Linked DNA regions of Homo sapiens: regions 2, 3, 4, 5, 6 and 7 are each linked to region 1. The links are contacts of gene promoters, found by promoter capture Hi-C in blood cells and fetal thymus (Javierre and others, 2016). All regions are on one chromosome and are shown on one strand. The core of a region is centred on a gene start or on the middle of the fragment in contact, and the rest is flanking DNA. Distances in the headings are between cores, read along the strand shown.

The links. The method cuts DNA at HindIII sites, captures the fragments that hold promoters and counts their contacts. A CHiCAGO score of 5 or more calls a contact.
Region 2: a contact is called between a fragment that was not itself captured here and the fragment with the promoter of COMMD9 in region 1, in 2 of 17 cell types (endothelial precursors and M1 macrophages). The highest score is 5.6, in endothelial precursors.
Region 3: a contact is called between a fragment that was not itself captured here and the fragment with the promoter of COMMD9 in region 1, in 1 of 17 cell types (monocytes). The highest score is 5.3, in monocytes.
Region 4: a contact is called between a fragment that was not itself captured here and the fragment with the promoter of COMMD9 in region 1, in 1 of 17 cell types (endothelial precursors). The highest score is 5.2, in endothelial precursors.
Region 5: a contact is called between the fragment with the promoter of FJX1 here and the fragment with the promoter of COMMD9 in region 1, in 16 of 17 cell types (M1 macrophages, naive CD8 T cells, erythroblasts and 13 more). The highest score is 16.7, in M1 macrophages.
Region 6: a fragment that was not itself captured here is called in contact with the fragment with the promoter of COMMD9 in region 1 in 4 of 17 cell types (total CD4 T cells, naive B cells, naive CD4 T cells and 1 more); the score reaches 7.0 in total CD4 T cells.
Region 7: a fragment that was not itself captured here is called in contact with the fragment with the promoter of COMMD9 in region 1 in 10 of 17 cell types (activated CD4 T cells, naive CD4 T cells, non-activated CD4 T cells and 7 more); the score reaches 9.8 in activated CD4 T cells.

What each region holds. Positions count from the first base shown.
Region 1 is chr11:36,288,173-36,291,657 of GRCh38, reverse strand. COMMD9 (COMM domain containing 9) reads left to right here and starts at 2,234. Exons shown (of 6, transcript NM_014186.4): 1 at 2,234-2,296. The coding sequence starts at 2,246. RefSeq lists enhancers at 2,084-2,333, 2,170-2,872. The HindIII fragment of the contact is 8,947 bases long and covers 1,917-3,485 here.
Region 2 is chr11:35,486,773-35,490,064 of GRCh38, reverse strand. All of the region lies in intron 3 of PAMR1 (peptidase domain containing associated with muscle regeneration 1), which reads left to right. Among named protein-coding and RNA genes, the nearest start is that of PAMR1, 37 kb to the left of the region's middle. The HindIII fragment of the contact is 1,017 bases long and covers 1,459-2,475 here.
Region 3 is chr11:35,575,875-35,579,141 of GRCh38, reverse strand. No RefSeq gene overlaps it. Among named protein-coding and RNA genes, the nearest start is that of FJX1, 41 kb to the left of the region's middle. The HindIII fragment of the contact is 346 bases long and covers 1,367-1,712 here.
Region 4 is chr11:35,549,485-35,553,166 of GRCh38, reverse strand. No RefSeq gene overlaps it. Among named protein-coding and RNA genes, the nearest start is that of PAMR1, 26 kb to the right of the region's middle. The HindIII fragment of the contact is 934 bases long and covers 1,025-1,958 here.
Region 5 is chr11:35,616,293-35,619,709 of GRCh38, reverse strand. FJX1 (four-jointed box kinase 1) reads right to left here and starts at 1,250. Exons shown (of 1, transcript NM_014344.4): 1 at 1-1,250. The coding sequence starts at 1,073. RefSeq lists enhancers at 1-295, 296-930 and silencers at 503-772, 783-1,042, 1,063-1,132, 1,230-1,391, 1,213-1,542 and 1 more. The HindIII fragment of the contact is 8,334 bases long and covers 1-3,417 here.
Region 6 is chr11:35,598,148-35,601,909 of GRCh38, reverse strand. No RefSeq gene overlaps it. Among named protein-coding and RNA genes, the nearest start is that of FJX1, 18 kb to the left of the region's middle. RefSeq lists an enhancer at 3,025-3,254. The HindIII fragment of the contact is 7,647 bases long and covers 1-3,762 here.
Region 7 is chr11:35,634,677-35,638,141 of GRCh38, reverse strand. No RefSeq gene overlaps it. Among named protein-coding and RNA genes, the nearest start is that of FJX1, 18 kb to the right of the region's middle. The HindIII fragment of the contact is 5,185 bases long and covers 1-3,465 here.

The sequences.
Region 1 (3,485 bases), core at 985-3,484:
ATGGGATGACATGGTGCCATTCATATCATACCAGCCCGCGAGAGTAAGGAGAGCTGGGAATCCTCCCACTGAAGCAGCTCCTGTCGCTCAGCTCTGCTCTCTGAACTAGATGGGTGTGATGAACACCATTTTACAGAGGTGGAAACTGAGGCCCAGAGAAGTTCAAGAATTTGTACACGGAAAAGTTAATAATGTGTAGAATTAGGATTCCAACTCAGGTTGAATTCTAAAACCCCTATGCTTTGCTGCCACCATGCATTAGTTACTATTGCTGTATAACAAATTACTTCAAAGCTTCATAGCTTAAAACAACAAACATTGATAATCTTAATAGTGTTTGAAGGCCAGAAATCCAGGCGTGGCTTCGCTGGGTGGTGCTGGCTCAGAATCTCTCATGAGGTTGCAGTTAAGCTGTTGGCCAAGACTCCTGCCTTCTTAAGGCTCTACTGGGCCTAGACAATCTGCTTCTCAGGTCAGTAATGAAGTTGTTGGCCAGATGCTTCAGTTCCTTGTCACCTAGGCCTCTCTGTAGGACTGTTTACAACATGGCAGTTTGCTTTCCCCAGAGCAAAGGATTCAAGTGAAAGAGAGCAGGGCACATGAGAGAGCACCCAAGCCAGGAGACAGGAACTTCAGTCTTTTTGTTAGTTTTTTGGTGCAGTCTTGTATAACCTAATCTCAGAAGTGATATGCCATTCACACCCACCATTTGCTATTGGTCATGCATACCAATCCTGGTACATGGTGGGAGGTGTCTACACTAGGTTGTGAACACCAGGAGGCTGGGATCATTGAGGGCCATCTTGAAGGCTGGTGACCACACTCCTCATTACTCTAAAGTAAGACAAGAAGGCACAATCCTGCAAATACCAAGGCAATATCCTCAAATAAGTCACAAAATTTCATCTTAGTCTAATCACTTTTTTGGGTGGTTGTTTATTTAACAAATATTCAATTAACCCAAGACAATGGGCCCAGCCCTATAGATACAGGCAGGAGTTAAACCTAGAACCTACATTGAGTTATAACAGAAACCAGGAATCAGGCCATGAGGGTTCATGGAAAAGAGAGGCCAAGAAAGAGAGCTAGAATCAGGACCCTGTGACAAAATGGTTCTAAAATCTTCTAATCCAGGAATGGGTTCCTCCTTAGACAATTTGATTTTTGGTTTCCTGGGCCTTGACAACATCCCCACAGAAAATGGAGTCGGGGAAGGGGAAGGGGGAGGAGAGGAGACAAAGGAACAAATGTCCTTAGCAGCTTACCAATTTCTGGAATTTCACAAATGGGCATTCTTTCTTAAGCTCGAATATATCAGAACCCATTTTTTGAGCTGGAATTTGCTTAAAAAAAAGTGGAGGGTAGGAAAAGAAAAGAGCCACCCAAATACTAAAGGTAGATAAAGGAAATGTCTGTTTTGATGTACGGTCTCTGAGAACAGGGCAAATCAGAGTCCAGTACTGCCAGTGCAAAATCACTCTTTACAATTATATTCATTATAATTACCTTTTTGAATAAATGAACTAAATCATTTCCATTAACCTCCTCCCCCATCTCACCCCCGTATAACAAGAACCTAGCTAGGTAGTAGCTTTCATTCCATTCCTCTCTTGTCCCCTCTCCCAAACACTTCCTCACCTGCTCTTGTAATCAGATCTTCTCTATGACTATGGGAAAGTTACTAAAAACCCTAAATGATTATTTCCCAATCTGGATAATACTAATAATACCAGCTCCAACCTACTACATAGGCTGAAAAACTATATACGCAGAAGTAATTTTACATTCAAGACAGGATGTGTGCATGTGTGTGTGTCAATTCCAAGAAGCCCGATATGCACAGCCTCATTTTCATTCCAAACACTGGTACGCCGATCACTCCTGAACAACTACGTTTCCAAGGCGCCTGCCAAGCTTGCAGGTGCATTCCCCAAGTGCGCCAGCCCACCCACATGGGTCAAGGGAAAACCTGTTTCCCTGACTTGGTAAGTAGACAAGTCAAGCCAATTTCCTCCCCGAGTAAACCATCCTCCGCCCTGGTCCCCCTAGTCCTTTGGTTCTAGAGTCTCGGGGTTTAGTCATCCAGCCGCCGCGTCCGTCTTGATCCGCGCTCACTGCCGCAGCACCACAACCGAAACGCCTTCCCCCACTCTGAAGGACTACAGCCCCCGGCAGGCCCCGCGACAACAGCGACAGCCACGTGACCTCGCTTCCCTGGGTGCCACGGTCATGTGACTTCGGCAAGATGGCTGCCCTGACAGCGGAGCATTTTGCAGCACTCCAGAGCCTGCTCAAGGTAAGTCGAAGGGGTGGGGACAGCGTGAGGTGGCCCTTTGTCTCCGAGACTTTAGACGGAGCAGGAATTGGGAACAAATTGACCCTGGTTTGGAGCCACAACTCTGCTGCTTGTTCTCTGTGTGATCCCAGGCAAATCGTTGCGTCTTTCTGAGCTTTTAAAAAGTAAGAACAAAATATCGTTTTGACAGGAACGTAAGATAAAAAAAAATAAAATAATGGGCATGAAGGCGCAGTACAACCTCCTGCTATTAGTCTTTGGGATTGGTTTTCGGTATTGGTGCATTGAAGTGGTAATTGCTAGACCCACGTTGTCAGTTCCCCATTTCATCCCGTAGCCCCTCCTGCATTGCACAATTAAGAAATTATCTCCTACTGCGTCTGCCCAGCCCTCCGAATGACCTGTGCGTTCAATGTTCCCTTGAGGTCCAGATTTTCCCTACTCTCTTTGACCTGCGAAAGGGGCAGGACATACTCCTGATAATCATTTGAAAAGTTGTGAGGTTGAAAGGGACCTACTTCATAGGGCTTTGTAAAGCTCAAATGAAGTATTATTATTATTTGAGACGGAGTCTAGCTCTGTTGTCCAGGCTGGAGAGCAGTGGCGCAATCTCGGCTCACTGCAACCTCCGCCCCCCGAGTTCAAGCAATTCTATGCCTCAGCCTTCCGAGTAGCTGGGATTACAGGCGCCCGCCACCAAGCCTGGCAAATTTATGTATTTTTAGTAGAGACGGGGTTTCAACATCTTGGCCAGGCTGGTCTTGAACTCCTGACCGCGTGATCCACTCGCCTCCGCCTTCCAAAGTGTTGGGATTACAGGCGTGAGCCACCGCGCCTGGCCGGAATTATTTAACTTATGATTTGCCCTGTAGGAGAAAGGGCAGCTTTATTTTCCTTCGTAGAACTTGTCGCTAGCTATTTGCCCGTTGTCCGTCTGTCTCATAAGAATGTAAGATCCATCAGGGACCTTTCCTTTCTTCCTCTCTCTTTTTTTTTTTTTTTAAACACCAGGTGAAGAGGGTTGAGTTACTCTCCTCAATTTATGGCACATCATCATCATCGGTCCATGTAATAGTCTCTGTTTTGTTTTACTTATTTATTTTTTAATTGCCTTCTCAGTGTTCATTAGCATTCTCCACTCCTAAGGGGATCTACTCTTTTGTTCACAAGTGTTAATGCCCAATAAGTA
Region 2 (3,292 bases), core at 718-3,217, 800 kb after region 1:
CCTTCTGCCATGATTGCAAGGCCTTCCCAGCATGTGGAATTGTGAGTCCATTAAACCTCTTCCCTTTACAAATTACCCAGTCTCAGCTATGTCTTTCTTAGCAGTGTGGGAACAGATTAATACAGCCTTGTAGGTAGGTAAGCTAGGTAAGGAATTTAGATGCTATTGCAAGTGCAGTGGGGAACCAAGGAAGAGTGGTGAAGTAGAGGATGGACCAAGTGCTCTGAGAACTAGCTAACAGAACAGTTAATGACAGGGAGAGGGAGGTAAGGTTTCAGACAGGAAGTGAAGGTTGAGCTATGCCTTTGCTCTTCAGTTGGCAGAGCAGGAAGATATTTCAGGGAGAGGGATAGTATGGTCAGGGTGTGAAAATGCAAGGTGTGTTCAAGGAAGCATGTGACATGAGGTATGATTAGAGCAAGGTGATGGTCTTGGGGTGGCAAGCCCTGACTATGAAGGGCATAGTGTTCCAGGGCTCAGAGCTTAGACATGGTTCTGAGATGAAGGATGGTTTAATCTGGGGAGTACCATTTGACAGATAACTCTTGTAGCATAACTCCGCTGGAGTGGAGGAAGACCATATCCAAAGGTAGCCATTAGGAGTGCGATTGCAGCGCTTCAGGGGATGAAGAAGGGAGACTAGAGTGAGAAGAGCTTAAAGGAAGGAGTGACAGGACTCAAGACTCACTGAAGAATGGGGTAAGGAATCTCAAGAGTTTGCCTTTCAAATTCTTAGTTTGATTAACTGTCTAGAAGTTGATGCTGTTAAGTGAGTAATAAAAGGGAAGAGGTTTGGTGGGGGAAAGAAGGTGAGTTCCACATGAGATAAGCTGGAATTTGGACATCTATAAGAGACTCTGCAGACAGTAGGAAATAAGTGCCTGGAGCTCAAGAGAATTTTGGAGACTTGAGATATGCCTATGGCTGTTATAGATGGAAGCATGAGGTGAACAGAGCACCATGGGCAGAGGAAATAGCAACAGATGTAAAAGGAAAGGAAGAGAAAACCAGGAAGGAGATGGGAAAAGATAGAGAGATAGGAGGAGAACCAGGAAGGAGTAGGGTTCTGGAAGCTGGGGGCAGTGTTTCAAAGGCAGAAAGGTCACATAGGATGAAGGCAGTAAAGAGGTTTTTGTGTTTGATGGCTAGCATGCGATTGGTGACCTGAGCAATAGCAGTTTCATATAAAATTTGGCAGGGCGCAGTGGCTCATGCCTGAAAGCCCAGCACTTTGGGAGGCCAAGGCAGTGGATTACTTGAGCCCAGAAGTTCGAGACCAGCCTGAGCAACATGGTGAAACCCTGTCTCTACAAACAATACAAAATTAGCTATGCCACTGCCACTCTAGCCTGGGCAGAGTGAGACAGTTTCCAAAAAAAAAAAAAAAAAAAAAAAGGCAAGATTTGAAGTGTGAAAAATGGACAAAAAGAATACAGACAACTTTCTTTTAAATAAGCTTAATCAAGCAAGGAAGGGGAGAATTAAGGTGATAGTTTATATGAGTAAATAAACAGCTGTGGAAAAATACCAATTAAGATGGGAAAGGCCGGGTGCAGTGGCTCATACCTGTAACCCCAGCACTTTGGGAGGATGAGGCAGTCAGGTTACTTGAGGACAAGAGTTCAAGGCCAGACTGATCAACAAAACAAGATTCTGTTTCTACACAATATTAAAAAAATTCAGCCAGGCATGGTGGTGCATGCCTGTAGTTCTGGCTACTCAAGAGACTGAGGAGGGAGAATCGCTTCTGCAGCCAAGGATTTTGAAGCTGCAGTGAGCTATGATTACACCACTGCATTCCAGCCTAAACAACAGAGCAAGACCTCATCTCTGTCTCTCTCTCAAAAAAAAAAAAAAAAAAAAAAAAGATGGGAAAGGGTTAAACAGGTTTTAAGCTAATGTGAGTAAAGTGTCAGTAGGAGAGATTAAAAATATTACATATTAGAGTAAGACTAACTGAAGAAGTTAAGACCATGTTATCCTGAAGGAGAAGAACTTCCTATGAGATCAAGAACAAAAGTGAGAGTTAAAGGAGAGGGAGCTTCCTTTTCTGTCCTAGGCTGAGACAGGAGGAAAAGAATTATTTATAGGTAGCATATCTTGTTTGTTAGTAATTATATGGTAGGAACTGTGCTGAGCACTTTATGTGCCATGTCTTGTTTCATCTGTACAATCACCCTATGAAAATACATACTCCCATTTTATAGATAATGAAACTGAGGCTCAGAGCTGTGAAGTAACTTGCCTGAGGCCGTACACTTTGGGGTAAAGCCCAGGACGATTCCAGACCCCTTACTCTTGTTCTTAACCACAGTCCTAGTCTGCCTCCTGCTGGTGAGTTCTCCCGTTTTCTCTGGGAAGTAGGGAGTGAAATATCTGCTGAGAATGAGTAGAAGTGAGGTTGGGGCTTGAAAGTACCAAAGGTTTGGGGCAGCCACTTGAGGAACAAGAAAAGGCACCAGCTGGTGTTAAGCTTAAAGCATATCCAAGCGAGACGGAGGACCCAGTCGAAGCCAGAGTTCCTAGGGAGGTGATGCAGTCAGTTAGGACGTTGGCTGATGCTCTCTGGAAGTGCAGCAGCAGAAGGGAGTAAAACCAGTTGTTTTGTTGATCCAAGAATAAGCTGAGACATGACTGACCAAGGATCCCAGCTGGGAAGGACATGAAATCAGAAAGAGCCTGGTAGAGGGGCAATAGGGACAGGAGGTCTTAAGTGGAAAAGCAGGCTTGGTGGTAATGAAGTAATGGAACACATAGGTGGAATGGGTATTATGGTCAGAGAGTAGAGTTTCTAAGTTGAAGCTTTCAGGGATGGTGGTGATAAAGTGTTCAGTTTTTTTTTTTTTTTTCTGGGTAACTAACAATCTCAAAGGACAAATGTTTGTTCTTTCTCATGGGTCTGTGAGTTGGCAGGCATTCCACTGATTTCAACTGGGCTGACCTGGGCTGGTTGTGCTCCAGGCTGCAGGGCTTAGGCAGAAGGGACAGCAACCATCAGGGGATGCTCTTCTCAGGGTGGGTCGCAGAAGCACAAGAGGTCAAGCCAAACACACAGGTGCACATAAGGCCTCTGCGCACATCACACTCACCCATATTCCACTGGCCAAAAGAAGTCACATGGCTAAGTTCCCAATGAGTGAAGTAGGGAAGTATATGCCATCCCAAAGGAAGAGGGGTGGATAAATATTTCTAAACAATACTTCAGTCGCTCCATGTGAGTAAGGGGGTTTGTTCAGGGTGCAGGGGACAGGAAGGAAAGAATATTTGCATGCAAGAAGTCAATACAGCAAAT
Region 3 (3,267 bases), core at 290-2,789, 710 kb after region 1:
GTCCTTGTGATAGTTTACTGAGAATGATGATTTCCATTTTCATCCATGTCCCTACAAAGGACATGAACTCATCATTTTTTATGGCTGCATAGTATTCCATGGTGTATATGTGCCACATTTTCTTAATCCAGTCTATCATTGTTGGACATTTGGGTTGGTTCCAAGTCTTTGCTATTGTGAATAGTGCCGCAATAAACATACGTGTGCATGTGTCTTTATAGCAGCATGATTTATAGTCCTTTGGGTATATACCCAGTAATGGGATGGCTGGGTCAAATGGCATTTCTAGTTCTAGATCCCTGAGGAATCGCCACACTGACTTCCACAATGGTTGAACTAGTTTACAGTCCCACCAACAGTGTAAAAGTGTTCCTATTTCTCCACATCCTCTCCAGCACCTGTTGTTTCCTGACTTTTTAATGATTGCCATTCTAACTGGTGTGAGATGGTATCTCATTTTGGTTTTGATTTGCATTTCTCTGATGGCCAGTGATAATGAGCATTTTTTCATGTGTCTTTTGGCTGCATAAATGTCTTCTTTTGAGAAGTGTCTGTTCATATCCTTTGCCCACTTTTTGATGGGGTTGTTTGTTTTTTTCTTGTAAATTTGTTTGAGTTCATTGTAGATTCTGGATATTAGCCCTTTGTCAGATGAGTAGGTTGGGAAAATTTTCTCCCATTTTGTAGGTTGCCTGTTCACTCTGGTGGTAGTTACTTTTGTTGTGCAGAAGCTCTTTAGTTTAATTAGATCCCATTTGTCAATTTTGGCTTTTGTTGCCATTGCTTTTGGTGTTTTAGACATGAAGTCCTTGCCCATGCCTATGTCCTGAATGGTAATGCCTAGTTTCAACATCTCCTTTTCTAGATGTGAGCTCCTTAAGGAGAAAGACTGACTTTTCTTTTTTATACCACAGCTGTGGTTATAAAGTTCCCACTATTTGGCATATAGTAGATGTTCAAAATATGACTGTCGATTAAATCAGTGGTTCTCAAACTTTATGGTCTTAGAACCTCTTTTTTTGTTTGTTTGTTTTGTTTTGAGACAGGGTCTCACTGTGTCACTCAGGCTGGACTGCAGCGAGGTGATCTCGGCTCACTGCAACCTCTACACCCAGGCTCAAGCGATCCTCCCACCTCAGCCTCCCAAGTAGCTGGGACCACAGGTGCACACCACCATGCCCAGTTATTTTTTTTGTATTTTTATTTAATACAGGTCTCCTGTGTTGCCCAGGCTGATCTCAAACTCCTGACCTCAAGCAATCCACTCTCTTCAGCCTCCCAAAGTGCTAGGATTATAGGCATCAGACATTGCGCCTGGCCAGGACTTCCTTATACTCTTAAAATTTATGAAGACCTCCAAAAAGCTTTTGTTTATGTGGGTTATATCCACTGATATTTACCATATGATAAATTAAAACTGAATAAGAAAACATTTATTAAAATTTCAGTTGATTCATTTAAAAATAACAAATGCATTATGTTAACGAAATAACGTTTTTAATAAAAAACATTTTGAAAACAGAAAACCAGTTAGTCAGAAGAATCGCATTGCTTTATATTTTTGCAAATCTCTTAAATATCTGGCTTAAAAGGAGTCAGCTGGACTCTCATATCTGCTTCTGCAATTAATCTGTTGTGATATGTTGTTTTGGTTGAATTTTATGAAGAAGATATGGCCTTGCACAGACACACAGTTGGAGAAGGAAAAAGCTTTTTAATGGGCTTTTGAGATAATTGTGAATATTCTTATATTTTGTAATTCGAGGTAGGATCTTGCTCTGTTGCCCAGGCTGGAGTGCAGTGGTGTGATCATGGCTCAATACAGCCTTGACCTACCAGGCTCAAGCGATCCTCCCACCTCAGCTCCTCTAGTAGCTGGGACTAGAGGTGTATGCCACCATGCTAGCTAATTATTTTTTATTTGTAGAGATGGATGGAGTCTTACTATGTTTCCCAGGCTGGACTCAAACTCCTGGACTCAAGCAATCCTCCTGTCTCAGCCTTCCAAAGTGCTGAGATTACAGGCGTGAGCCACCATGCTTGCAGATATTATCCTTTGATACTACACAAAATTTGCTAAGTGGTAGTTTCTTAAAGGTTATTTTCAGTTCACTAATATGGTTCACTAAAACCATATTGGTGAACTCTTCATACCCTGTTATATAAAATCCATTGGTCTGTCTTGAAATTTGAAGGGATCTTTTACCCATGCATGATTTTGTAACATCGTGGAAAATATTGGCTCACTGAGGTTATGTATATATTCCAGATATTCAAACATTTCACTATAAAATATCACAAAATCATACTTGTCAATATTACCACTGATTTCATTAGAAAAGCTCTTAAATATTGAGAAACTATTAAGCTCATAGCAGTAAATAAAATTTTTCCAAATTCTAATTTTCAGTTGAAGGCTTAAATTTTATCATTGGCGACACATACTGTCAGTTGCTTTTCTTGAAATGATGAGTCTTATTTGTGTATTTATTTTGAGATGGTGTCTCGCTCTGTCACCCAGGCTGAAGTAGAATGGCATGATCTCGGCTCACTGTGACCTCCACCTTCCAGGTTCAAATGATTCTCCTGCCTCAGCCTCCCAAGTAGCTGGGATTACAGGTGCATGCCACCACACCCAGCTAATTTATTATATTTTTGGTAGAGATGGGGTTTTACCATGTTGAGCAGGCTGGTCTCGAACTCCTGACCTCAAGTGATCTGCCTGCCTTGGCCTCCCAAAATGCTGGGATTACAGGTGTGAGCCACCACACCCAGCCTCATTTTATTTATTTTTGATAAAAAGTCTGCCAAATTCTCAAATTTAAATAACTGAAATTTATTTGCTATCATTATGGGCTGAATTGTGTCCTCCCCTCAAATTCATATGTTGAAGCCCTAACCCCCAGCACATCAGAACGTGACTGTATTTGGAAACAGGGCCTTTAAAGAGGTGATTGAATTAAAATGAGGCTGTTAGGGTGGGCTCTAATCCAATCTGATTGGTAATTTTGTAAGAAAATGTGGACAAACAGAGAGACACCGGGGCACACATACAGAAAGGGGCTACCATGTGAAGACACAGCGAGAAGATGGCCATCTGCTTTCCAAGGAGAAACCAAATCTGCCAATGCCTTGATCTTGAACTTCAGGGAAATTGAGAGGCTGCTGGCTGCATTGGTGAGCGAGAGTGAGGAGGCAGGTAGTGCAGTGGTCTGAGGCTCCTGGTGGCAGCTGTCATTGTGAGAAGAGAAGGGAGCTGGATGGGTT
Region 4 (3,682 bases), core at 242-2,741, 740 kb after region 1:
TCATGAGAAATCCACCCCCATGATCCAATCACCTCCCACCAGGCCCCATCTCCAACATTGGAGGTTACAATTCGACATGAGATTTGTGCAGGGACACAGGTCCAAGCCATATCTCCTTCTGTCTCTGACTTTCTAGGAATCTAAATACAATACGTGAAAACCTGAGTTTGTAGAAGCACATGAGTTCTGCCGCAAGGCAATCAGGGTGATCCTCCCATTACTGAGTGTGTGTAAATACTCAGTGGTCTTTATGCTGCCCACAGCTACTCAAAGACCTTCATGGCTTCCTCATCACTTACACAGAAGCCAAGAATGTCCAAGCAGAGTGCTTCCTGCTCTGTTCGGGTGGCTTCAATGCCTAGCACCCCTCCACACCCCAATTCTTGCCATATCTCCGCATTCTTCCTTGATGCCACTCCCTGTTTGCTTCTTTCTTTTGAACAAATCCATGTTGATGGTCCCCTGGCTTTAAATTTTGGCTCTTAAATTTCACACCACCAAAGCTCATGGTTAACTCCTAACCAGTCCTTCTCGGAGTCCCAAGTGTCCCTGTGGAGATGGATATTGGAGAGTAATTGTGCACCAAAGCATTTGTCCTTGTTTGTCTGTGTGACCAAATTTTGGAGGGTAGCAGATGATGGTCAAGTGATCTTTCACTCTGAGGCCCAAGAATTAATTCTGTGAGAAGGTAATGTAAACAGTGGCCTTTTAATTGGCTGGGGATTTGGTAGAGGCAGAACTCCCAGAATATAACAGTTTCTGGGGCTATCTTGGAGCATAAGTTTGCACAAGTATTGCTAAATGTGAGGAGTCTGACAATCAAATATACACTAGTAGCAGCCAACAGGGTCTTGGAGTTATATAGGGGCTGGAGGAGGTCCTGGTCCTAGAATATTTACAGGTCCAAGATATGCCTATCATCATCAAAAATCAGGCTGAACTGTTTGAGGCCTTATATAGGGCTGGGGGTGGTTATGATGCTTGAACAGAATGCCAAACCTATTTTTCCTTACCCCAGGAAGCTTCATCTATAATAATTCAACAAGCAGGACTGGAGAGTGGTCATTGATAGGAATGTTACATTGGTTAATTAGCTTCTTCAGAATGACCAGCACTGTTCCCAGCTGATATCACTCCCGACTTTGACCAGAGCTTTATTTCTACCACTTTATAAAAACACATCTGTCAGAGAAAAATGAATTTGCTGACCCAGAAGGACAACTGTGGGAGAGAAGCTCACGTGTAGCAGAGATAATTTTCTATCAGAGCTTACTTATTCAGGAATTCCACTCTAGGTCGTGGCAAATTGAGGAAGGGTCCATGTTTTGCTCACCTTTGTTTTTGGTGCCACTTTACGTGGCAGCATCAGGAATGAATGGGTGACTCTGGGGCTGTCCCTGTATATCCATAATGGAGGCTCCCAGGGCTGAGGAGCCCTCCTAGGTGAGGGAAGCCCTGTAGGATCACCCCACAATCTGGCGCATACTATCCTATCTTGTTACGCTCTAAATCTCAACTGCTTTCTTAACTAGTTTGTAAGTTCCCTGCAAGCAGATAATAATAGTACCTGCTTCCTAGGGCGGTTGTGGGTATAAATGAGACCACGTGTACAAAGTGCTTAGCACATTATCTGGTAAATAGAAAATTCTCAATAGATGGCATAAGCCCTCCAGAGCCTAGAACACATTAGAACTTTAATAAATACCAATTACAATAATGAATGTTTGATTACCTCTGTTGAGCTTAGGTCTATTTCCCTGTAAAGCTAGATCCCAGAGCACTTGAAACAGGAGGTATTCAGGAGATAGTAGTTATGATAGTCACCATTAATCCTCCCAAATTATTCCCCTTGTACAGATGATGAAATGGAAACTCAGAGAAGTTACCCATCTTGCTTCTGATCATTCAGCACAGTTGTGGCAGAACTGGGGCTCAAACCCTGGGCTAACTCCAAAGCTTCTGCTTTTAATTACTTTGCTGTGTTGCTTCCCCAGGGAAGTAGGTTGAGATTATGATGATTTCAGCCATAATGGTTTCTATTTTCTGTCTGTATGGATAATAAAGAATTTAATATTCAATTAACCTTTACTGAGCCCTAACATGTACCAGGACCTGCTAGGATTCTTTGTAGGGTACATTTGTGCAATCTACTGAAAGATACCCCCTTTGGGTGAATGTAGCCATGGGCACATGGCGTGGTCAGTAGAAGCTGGGCTGGATTCCAGCCTCCACTTGTCCCCTAGCCTGGGCGCCTGTATGCAGCATGCAAACTTGCCAGGTGTATTTGGTGCCCTGGGAACTGGCCATGTCATCGAATCTACTCTCTTCAACAGTCCCCTTGCCTCCTCACAGAACTAATTCTTGGGTTTCAGGGCCAAAGGTCACTTGACCATCATCTGCCACCCTCCAAAGTTTGGCTGCACAGAAAAAAAATGACAGATCCTTTGGTGCACAATTACTCTCCAATATCCATCTCCATGGAAACACCTGGACTCTGATAAGGGCTGGTTAGGAGTTAACCATGAGCTTTGGCTGGTGTGCAATTTAAGAGAGAATGGGTGACTCAGTGATATGGAGAGGAACCAAAATTTAAAGCCAGGGACCATCAACATGGATTTGTTCAAAAGGAAGAAGCAAACAGGGAGTGGCATCAAGTTAGATCTCAGAGATGTGGCAAGGATTGGGGTGTCCAAGTACAATGCCACTCCACAGATGAAGAGGCTGAGATTCAGAGTTGTGGCATTTCCAAGGCTACACAGGTGTCAGTGTGCATATGCAGTGTTCAAGTCAGAGTCCTTTAGCTTCAAATTCAGAGGCTGGTTAAAGATTGCTGCAAAAGTAATTGCGGTTTTTGCAATTATCTTTTTTTTTTTTTTTAAATAAAGGCAAAAACCACAGTTACTTTCACACCAACCTAATATAAAGCAGAGTGGTTTAGTGTGGTCATAGTAAAGACTGACTTGGAATTCAGGAATGGTTGGATAGAATCTGCCACATTTGACAACTACTGCTCTTAAGATACTCTTGCTTGGTTGTAGCCACATCCCTGGTGAGTGGTAACTGTGGTCTCTTGGCACTACAGAAGAGACAAAGTTACAGGCAGGCTGAAGCCCTCTGGTGAGAAAGCACCGGTGAGCTGGGGCTGTGGAATGTGAGCACTTGAAAGATATGATGAGGCTCTTGGAATAGTCAGGGTTTCAGGTTTCAGTGCATATGCCGTGATTTTCTCACTGGGGACTGGAAAGTATACCAGCACTTACAGAGTAGCACATGCTCAGCTGAGAGCCTGGAGATCCTGCCAGTGGCTGAGTGGGGCGGGACAGACAGTTGGGTGCTGTGGTTAAGATGCTGGGCTCTGGAGAAAGCATGGCACTTACAAGCAGACCTCTGAGATTAATATCACAGCAATATTTCCTACATGAGGAAATTTACATCTCAAGGGAAGCTGACTCTGTTTCCCCATCTCCTCTCTTATTCTTTCATGGCTTTTCTAGCCCTTTGGAGATTGAGTTTACAATCTCCTTGGTAAGTCACAAAGTCAAATCAGGACCTCTGATTTTAGAATGTGGTTCTAAAGCATTGGGATTTTTTTCCCCCAGTGAAAGAGATGTATATTTGGATGGGCTATTCTTGATCTACTCATTATAGATATTTCTTCCTTCCAATGCTGGAGACATTTTAA
Region 5 (3,417 bases), core at 1-2,500, 670 kb after region 1:
TCGTTATACTTGTCCCACATGCCTGCTACCCGGTAGCCGTGCACCAAGCCCGCCTCATTGTCCAGAAAGACCAGCGCCCCGCCCGGACCGCGGTGCAGGTTGCTGGTGGCACGCTGCATGACGCGCGGGTCCCACTGCAGGCTGAAGAGGTTGCTTACGAGCCGGTCGAAGTTGGCCGTCAGGTAGTCGAAAAGGATTAAGTCGGTCCATTGTACTAGGTCCACCAGCTCCGCCTGGCTGAGGTTGGCCAGCTCACCCCCGGCATCCCGGAGGGGGCGCAGACGGCCGTCCTCCGAGCGCCAGGGCGCGGGCACCACCACGTCCGTGAGGTTGGGCAGCCAGCGTGTCAGGCTCACCACGCTGCCCTCGGTCCAGTGCGCAGCGCGCAGCTCCTCCTGCACCTGCGCCCACTGCGCGCCCCGAGCCTCCACCCGAGCCAGTGCCAGCGGCGGCACGTGGCGCTGGAGGCCCAGCAGGCGCGCCAGATAGTAAGACAGGGCCTCGCCCTGAATCTGCTCCGGGTTGATGCCGTAGCGCACGCAGGCGCGGGTGCCGTCGGCAAAACGGGCCAGTCGGTTGGAGCTGCGCCCGCAACCCCCGCGCTCCAGGGCCACCATCCGGGCGCCGCGAGCCGCCTCCAGCCACGCCGCCGCCTGGGCCTCCGAAAAGCCCGGGGGCACCTGCTCCTCCAGGCCGCGGCTCCAGAAGACGCCCCCGTGCACCGCGGCGCTCTCCTCCGGCCGGGGCTGCCTGGCTGACACGTGCCACCTGGGCTCGCTCCGGGACTGCCGGGGCGGGCCGTCCGCGCCGGCCGCCAGGGTGAGCAGCGCCCGGAAAGTTTTCAGGGAGCCGCCGCGGGCGTCCCACGCCAGGGGCGGGGGCAGAGGGAAGCGAGGCGCGGGCGCGGGGCCGCCGCTCCGGGCCGGGCGCCGTGGGAGTCGGTCTTCGGGCGGCCGGGAGGCGGGCAGCTCGGTCCGCGGCGGCAGGAGCCCTCCCCACAGCGCCAGCAGCGAGCCCAGCGCCAGCAGCCAGAGCCCCGCGGTGGCGGCGGCGCCCCGCATCCTCCTGCCCATGCTCCCGCGGCTGTGCCGGTGCGCCGCCGCCGCTTCAAGCCGAGCCCAGGCACCCGGGTCCCGGCGGCGAGGCGGGCCCGGCAGTTTGTGGGCTCCGGGGCTTCGGGCGCTTCGGCCCCATCGCGGCCGCGGGGCGCTGCGGGGCTCTGTCCGGCGCTCCGCCCGGCGCTGGGAACTCGAGTCCCCGCCGCTTCCCAGCTGCTTTTGTATTTCGCTGTGAGACCCTCCGGTGGGCGCGATTCACAGGCGCCCGGACCACGTGGGAGCCAGGGGGATCCCCCTCCCCCTCCTCCGCCTCCGCTCCCCGCCCCCCGCTCCCCCGCCCCCTTCCTCTCCTCTTCCACTTAAAGCGGCGATGGCTCCTTCCGAGAGGGAGAGGCGGCCCCACACTCGGTCCGGGACTTGGGGGCCTGGAGGAAGCCGGACTGGCTGCGCCCGCGCCGGGGCGTAGGAGGGGGTGGCGCAGAGCCGGAGTCTGGGGCCTGGCGGGAGGGACGCGCCCTGGGCCCTCGCGGGGGTGTCTTGGTCGCCGGGTCCCTTTGCCTAGGCAGCGCGGGTCTCCTGCAAACTTCAGACAGATTTCCACCTCTTTCCGAGCTCCGCCAGGCTAGGATCAGGCAGGGTCCCTTTGCTTTCTCAGTTTCTGTCTGGGTGATTCACGCTGCTTTATGTAAATCTCTGGGAATGTCTCCGAGCCACAGAGGATGTGATTCCAGCGGAAAGAGGAACCCGCTGTAGCCAACAACTTTGAACCGACACTCCCTTTTCCGAGCTCGCACATCAGCACCAATCAGTATTGGCCGCTCTGCCTTTCCCAACGGACTCCCAGGGAATGAAGCCTCGCTGTGCACGTGCCCCTTGAACACCTAGGCCATCTCCCATTCATTCATGCATCCATTCAACACAGCGACTGCCCCTCAGTTCTGGTTCTGCTTACCAGAAGCAAAATCCACAGATCCGGGTCCCAGTGCTGCTGAAATTTACATTCCAGTGGGACTCTCAGGTTGCTAAGAGAGATTATAGCCATCCAACCTCGTGTTGGGGAGAGGGGAGTCAGGGACGACTTTTCGAAAGAAATGATACCGTTTTGTCCATGAGGAAACTGAGGCACAGAGAAGGGATGGGTGTTGCTCAGGATTGCACAATTAGCAAGGGGCGAAGCTAAAAGTCAAACTCAGGTCTCCTGGCCGCATGCACTTGATTTTCCCTCCATTAAGAAAGATCAGTATTTTTTTTTTAATCAAGTCAGCATTCTCAAGTTTGAAATTCACTGTCATTTGACCACTTTGTTCCCCAAATGTGATTTTTCAATTAAAAGGATTTTTCAAATGGAAAGGAAAAAAACCTCAATCCCATACTGCATTTGATTTACTGCTTTTACGATTTAAGGGAAAAAGAAATGGTGGTGGTGGTGGGGGAGGGAGGTGGTGAAGGAGCAAAGAAAACAAAATGAACAACCTCTTCACCCCAACACATCTTCCAGCCACCTCTGGGTTACATTTACCAGGAAAACTTGGATGCCAGTCGGCCCTCCCTTACCTCTCTGTATCAGAATGAGTCCCAGATCCACACTGAGATTCCCAGGGTAGACACAAGATCAGGGGCATGGTGGAATCCACCTCTCAAAGGCCAGAGTTTGAAATCTGTTTCCTTACATGGTGTGTATCTTTTCTCTCCTTTCATCTTCCCATCAGGTGCACATGGGGGTTTTCAACTGGACTACCTCATCAGTTGGCACTGATTATGTTTTATTCTCCAAAGAAAAAACGTTCTAGGGTGATAGAGCGTTCCAGGGTGATAAAGCAGACACTCTTATGTTTATGGCTGAGCAGAGGCATCAAAAAACCACATTTGGAGTATTGCAGCACTGACCCAGGATACAGTCAAGTGTTTTCACTGGTGTGGTTAAGTACATACTGGATGAACTGTTGAATCTGTTCCCAACCACATGGTGGCTATACCATGCCATTTTATAACTCTTATCTGATAATGAGATTACTATGGCTCCCATATGGTTGCATCGAAATATATTAATCCATTCAAAGGTCTTATTTTTTTGGCCTATGTAAGCCCCTCCTCATCTTTCCCTAGCAGGCAGGGACTATGTCTTATTTTTTTATTTCTTATACCACCTAACATAGTATATTACACTAAATAAGCACTCAATAAATTTAATTTTTTTGTCTTTTGGTTTAACTTCTACTGGGATATATATGTATTTATTTGAAAGGCAGCCTCTTTCAGCGTGGGCAAACTATAAGCAAGATCGCCACCTAGTGGGCATAAGTAGAGTATCATCTAATTGGAGAAAAGTAGACATTTTTAACTGGATGATTAATTGTTG
Region 6 (3,762 bases), core at 972-3,471, 690 kb after region 1:
GCAGGGATGGAGAGAATCTGGGTCCTTTAGGATTGGACTGAGTCACTAAATAACCCATCCTAGAAGCCTACAGCAGCAGAAACTGCGACTTGCTTTTCCAGTGGGCATTCTATTCTCCTTTAGTAACACCAAATCTATATTGATAAGTATAGTAATGTACCCAGATATAAAACCACATTTTCTAGATTTCCTTGTCAATGGAAGTTATGTGGCTTTTTGCCCTAACTTTCTTTACTTTCCTGCTTCTTGGAAGGTGGGCATGATGGCTAGAATAATGGCAGCCAATATGTGACCATGAAGCTAACTTGAGAATACAAGTCGTATACTGAAGATGGTAGTGCTGAGAGTGTGGGTCCTGCCATACCAGCTATTGAATGTTTTTCTCTGGGCTTCTTTTATGTGAGAGAAATACAGCACTTTCTCTATGTAAGCTAGCAATTTCTAACTTACATAAGCTACTGTTACTTAATGTTTTCTTTTATATGCAGCTTGGTTTAATCCCAACGGAGAAGCCTATATATTTCTGAATTTCCTGTGGGTGAGAACTAATTTTCTTAATGTATAAACTGTTTGGAATTGGAGTTGCTTTCATATGCAATCAATAACATCCTAATTGTTTCCTCATTGAAACCCATATTGTTCGCATCTGTACTGTGTAGTTAACTACAACAAGGGCTGTATTCTTTAGTTCTAAATTATTCTTGATTGAAAGATCCTAATATTGGGATCCCTACCATTTTCAACATTTTTTTTTCTGAGACAGGGTCTTGCTCTGTCATCCAGGCTGGAGTGCAGTGGCACCATCATGGCTCACTGCAGCCTCAACCTCCTGGGATAGAGCAATTATCCTGCCTCAGCCTCCCAGGTAGCTGGGACTGCAGGTGCATGCCATTACGCCTGGCTAATTTTTAATTTTTTTTGCAGAGACGGTGTTTTGCCATGTTGCCCAGGCTGGTCTCAAACCCTTGGGCTCAAGTGATCTACCTGCTTCGGCCTCCCAAAGTCCTGGGACTACAGGTGCGAGCCACTGCACCCGACCCCATCTTCAGGCATTAAGAACATTCAGAAAACCCAAACAAAAAACACATGTTATGGCTTTGGTACAGCGTTGGTGGAAAATCCAGGTGGTTCCTTTGGCACTTACCCCAGACGATCCTAGTAATATCCTCCCACCTGAGCAGAGTCTGAGTTTTGAATATCCTCCTGCATGCACCTTCAGTTTCCTACTGCCTGCTCCTAAGATCCACACGCCCCAACCATGTGGTCTGCCTCCCACACAAATCCTCAGGGAGGAGAGCTTTTAAATTTGGCAAAGCAACTATTGACTCAGGTTTTGTTTGTTTGCCATTAAGTTAGCATTTAATAAATGCAAGATTCTTGGCTTAATAGGCTGGTTATTATGTGTTATCGAAATGGCAAATTAATTATTCAAAAGCTGTGTTTAAGATATACCAGAGATGTAACTGAGGAGGCCTCTTTGTTCCTAATTTGCAGTAAGCATTGCATTTCTGGCCAGTCAGTATTTATTTCAAGTATAATAATTATCTTGTTAAACCCAAATCTATTAAATTGAAATGAAAGTCAGGAATTAGTGCTGGAGGGTGGGGAAGGGTTTACTCAGGCGATGTTGCGAGCATCCTAAACCACCAGCCTCATGACTCTCACCTCACCGTGAGGATGCCAAAGCCAGCCCCTAAAGCATAACTGCATTGATAATTGTTCATTATCCAGGGACAGAGCCACCTACTATCCTTGGCTCAAGTAACTCTCCCTTGGTTATAAACTTTTAACGTAATGATGAGAAAGACAGCCACTGTTTATCAGTGCCTCTTACGTGACAATTGCTTTACATCCATTATCTCCAGTTCTCACAACAATCTCAATTTACAGATGAAGAAACTGAGACTTGGAGGGGTTAAATAATCTGCTGAAGGTCACATATGTATAGTCAGTCCCTTGGTGTTCACAGGGGATTGATTCCAGGAATCCCTGTGGATACCAAAATCCACAGATGCTCAACTCTCTTACATAAAATGGTGTAGTATTTGTGTCTAACCTACACACATCCTCCTGTATTCTTTAAATAATCTCTAGGTTGCTTATGTCTAGTGCAATGCAAATGCTATGAAAATAGTTGTTATACTGTATTTTAAAATTTATATTTTTAATTGCTGTCTTATTATTTTTTATCTTTCCTCCAATATTTCAGATCTGCATTTAGTTTTGAATCCATGGATACAGAACCCACAGATAGAGAGGGGTGACTGATATGTTAATTGCAGAGCTGAGAGTTTGACTCAGGTCATTTGGGTTCCAAAGCCATCCTCTCTGCAGCTGCAGAAACTCTGAGGCCTTGAACATGTATTTTTGTGTACTGCAGAGGGGAGACTGTTCCTTGCCTTTCGGCTCAGAACCTGATTACCAGAGCAGTCTGTTTTGTTCTCTGCCCCTCCCCAGTTAAGTTCCAGACTTGTTCCACTGTAGCATGGGCATGTTCACTTGCCTTCTTCCACTCTCGTGGCTCCATGCTGCAGCTAAGAAGGGGCCATCAGGCCATCATAACTTACCTTTGTGCATCCACTCCGTTTTCCATCCCCATGTGCAGGACTGCAGGGTTTATCAACAAATTCTAACGAGAAGCAAAAAAATTTCCAAGGAGAAAAAAATATTCCAATGTATCTGAATCAGTTTTCTGGATTCTTTGTTTGTGTCCAAGCCCCTTCAATGCAGCTATAGCTGAGAACCAGCAGCCAGAGGGTGGAGTAAACAAAAGACATGAACTGGGGACTGCCTGAAGACTTTATTATAGCTCACAACTTAGGATATTGAGATGACTAGTTATACCCACAGAATGATGCTGCAGAGTACCCAGGCCACATGGTTCAAACAAGCTGACACAGGGAGATTCTGTTTGGCTTCTACTTACGGGAGCCAGGTCATTCACTCATTCGTTTCATCCATTCATTTATCCAACACATATTTGTCATTTGCCTGCTTTGTGTCAGGCACTGTTGTAAAGCATGAGGTCTCTGACTTTACATGAGATGTCCTAGAATCCCAGGGGTGGGGCAGAGGAAGAAACACTGGCCAGAGTTAGAAGAACTGGGTTTGAGTTAGCATGACCAACTTTTCTGGTTTGCCAGGGACTTTCCCAGTGTTAGCACTGAATGTCACATATCCTGGAAAACCCCTCAGCAACTGGGGAACAGTTGGTTGCCCAGGTTTGAGTGCCAGCTCTGCTATCTACTTGTCTGTTAGTCAATCTATATTTTGTGAGTACCTATTAAGAGCCAGGCAGTGTGCCAGGCTGGGAAACAGCAGTAAGCAAAGAAGAGTCCCTGTGCCCAAGGGGTCCCCTTTCAGTAGGAGTAGACATCCCAAGCAGACACAAATAACTTAAGGTGTGTCTAAGAGCCATCAAGAAGATAAAATAGGTACTGTGATGTAGAGTGACTGCATATGGGAGGGGCTGTTTTAGCTAGGCAGGTCAGAGAAGGCGGTAGCAGGGGGTGACAATAAACAGAGCCCTCAATGAGAGAAAAAGGACAGCTATGTATGAATTTTTGGGGGAAGTTTTCCAAGCAGAAAGATCATCAAGGGCAAAAGCCCTGAGATGGGAACAAATCTGCCAGGTTTGAGGGTCAGAAGGAAGGTTAGTGTGAATAGAAAGAGAGGAGGAAAGAGATGGGGAGGGGAGGAGGAAGGGGTTGGAGAAGCAGGCGGGGCAAGATGATGGAGGGCCTTGGGCTCTGCAGTAAGTGA
Region 7 (3,465 bases), core at 57-2,556, 650 kb after region 1:
TGAAGTAGTCCAGGCCTGGCTTAGACTATAATGTATATGCTAACATAAACATTAAGAGTGGAACAAATACCTGGGAAAAGTACACAGCCCCAAGATCTTCAAACCTATGAGAAAAACATAGCGAGAATAACACATCATTACCTTTTTCAAACTAAGAGAGAGATCTGGCCAGGGATAAGTAAGTTATTCCAAGTAGGTTTAGAAAAATAACCAGTGGTGTGTGGTTATTACCAATGGGGTGTGGTTATTACCAACGTCATGGAGGCATGGCTCTCTTGATTATAAATAGAATGCTTTGAATTTTCTGATTCTATTTCTTACAAAGCCAGCCAAAGCCACACATGAGAGATGTTGGATCTTCAGTAGGGAAGTTCTCCAGGTCTCTCTCTATTTAGCTATTATCAGAGCAGATATACACTTTAGTTCTATAAATTACAAGTTGACTTCTTCTACTTTGGCCAATTCTAAAGTATTCTGAGGGTAAGTCTCCCATGTTTCATAGAACAGATGAATTTGTCTTCCTCTGACTCTCTGGCATGTGAACACCCTGAAAAGGGGGTACACTTTAAGGCATTTTGCAGTATGTAAATTGCACTGTATTTGATGATAGGCAGATCAAAGTTTACATCTTCCCTCTATCACTGCCATGGAACCTGGGCAACTTACTTTACTTCTCTGAACTTCAATTTCCTCTTTTGTCAAAAGAAGCTGATGATACCTCCCTGAAGAATAAGTAAGGTAAAGCAAGTGTGCACATTTAGCTAACATTTGTAGGATACTTTATAGATTATGGCAATGAATACCCCAGCTCTCTTTCATTTGCCTTGTGATTTGTAAGTACTCTGACTACATGCACTGTGCTAGGTATCTTTTTTTTTTGAATTGTAGTAAAATATACATAACAAAATTTACCATGTTAACCATTTTTAAGTGTACTGTTCAGTGGCATTAAGTACATTCACGTTATTGTACAACCTTCACCAACATCCATCTATAGAAATGTTTTATTATTCCAACTGAAATTCTGTACCCATTAAAAAATAACTCCTCATTTTTCTCTTCCCCTAGCAACCACCATCTTCCTTTGTGTCTCTACGAATTTGACTACTCTATGTACCTCATATAAGTGGAATCTCACCATTTTGTCTTTTTGTGTCTGGCTTATTTCAGTTAGCATAAGGTCTTCAAGGTTGACCCACATTGTAACATATGTCAGAAACTCATTTGTTTTTAAGACTGAATGATTTTAAGGTTGTATGTATACAGCACATTTGGTTTACCCATTCATCCATTGGTGGACAATTGGGTTATTTCCACCTTTCGGGTATTGTGAATAATGCTGCTATGGGCACTGGTGTGCAAATATCTGTTTAATTCCCCTCTTTCAATTCTTTTGAGTGTATACCCAGAAATGGGATTGCTGGTCCTATGATAATTCTAGGTTTAATTTTTTGAGGCTGGATGTCCTTTGTGTATATTATTTGCAGTAGAAGGGGTGATGAGAGGTACCCTCAGAGATTCTCAGGTGTTTCTGCAGGACTGTCCCACCATCAGTGACCTAATGAGGTCAAGGACCTGCAAGGCAGCAGGTCTACAAGACTACACCGCTTAATCATTTAGGCTCTCTGATGCCTGCCTTTCCTCCCCAGTTATAGGTGACAGATTGCCAGAGCAGGGAAAAGTAATCCCAGAGACATCAGTATGCAAGCCAGAACAGGGAGCATTATGGTTTAAAACTGTTTCTCCACTGTTTTGCTATGGATATGTGTCTGAATGAGACACATCCCACCCCCAGCCCACCCCCTCCTCTCTCTGCTGGAAGAGCAAAGGCAGGCACATTGGGGTGTGTTAACCCTTCCAGAACCGGCACCAATGACTTCCTTAAAGTGTTCCATGTTTCAGCAGCCCTGCCTCAAGTTATCTGAGAAGATGCCGTTCATTGGATGACATGAATTGTTCCGTAACTGACAGACACTGAAAAGTCTCATTATCACCAATAACCGGAGCATCTCATTCATATCACACCTGTCAAGGCAGTCAGGTTGGGTCGTGTATGCATCCGGCAAAAGCCACTCAGATCACACACAAGAAGAATCATGCACTCTGGTGTGGTATCTCCCCCATCCAGCCCAGTCTCCATAGGGAAGTCACAGGAGAAGATCAGAAGTAACCACTATTGGATAAATAAACCCATTCTTTTGATATTGCTTTTAACCTGTTGGTGATCTTCACAGAGAGGTGAGCTTTTCAGAGAGAAAAGTGTTGGACTTTGTGGGTCATGAGCAAGTGGCAGGAGGTCCCGAGACAGCCCTCTGAGCTGTGGAATTGCAGTTGGCTTTTCAATGGTCACTTGGCAGAGTCATTTTCCTGAGTGTCCCAGACAGGGCTTTCTAGGAAAATCAATTCTGGCTGCATCATAAGGGGATGTACTCAAAGGGAGAAGTCACTGGATATGGTGTGAATATCATGGGCTTCAGTAGCAGATAGACTGGGGTTTGGATCAGCACTAATTAACTACGTCACATGGGGCAAGTTGCTTAACCACTCTGTGCCTGTTTCCCCATCAATGAAATAAAGAGGATTTTTAAAAATCTGTCTTCCTTTGGTCACTTATTAGCTATGTAGGCTGAGGTAGATCAACTTTTAGTGAGCTTTAGTTTCCTTATCTGCAAAATGGGCAGGAACAATTCCTCTCTCTAAAGGTTGTTGTGAAGATGAGATAAAATGTAAATAGTAGATGGTAGGTACTCAATAATTGTTAGATATTACTATTTTGAGGCTGGTGTGGTGGCTCATGCCTGTAATCCCAGCACTTTGGGAGGCCGAGGCTGGGGCAGATCACAAGGTCAGCAGTTTGAGAACAGCCTGGCCACTATAGTGAAACCCCGTCTATACTAAAAATACAAAAATTAGCTGGGCATAGTGGCATGTGCCTGTAGTCCCAGCTACTTGGGAGGGTGAGGCCGAAGAATTGCTTGAACCCAGGAGGCAGAGGTTGCAGTGACCTGAGATTGCGCCACTGCACTCCAGCCCGGGCGACAGAGCAAGACTCCATCTCAAAAAAAAAAAAAAAAAAAAGATATTACTATTTCAAGCTACCTTTTACCCTTTTGATGGTAGATGGGGTATAAATAATTAGAATGTATGTACAGAAAATAAAGTTTAGACTCAAATAGGAAACGTCTGTGTTGAGTGTATCTGTGGACCTTTTCACTGTCATTTCTGCCAGGTTGTTTGAGCCTGATACCACTTCTCACCTTGCCTTATAGAAGGCAGAAGTCTTTCATGATCTGATTTGTTCTCTCAGCACAATGTTGTCGTTAAGCAAGATGCCCCTGGAAACAATGACCAGGGATGAAAATCATGGCACCTCAACTTCCAAGTCTTATAATTTTGAACAATTTCTAATTTTCTTTGTACTTCAGTTTTCTTTTCTTTTCTTTTTTTTTTTTTTGAGACAGAGTC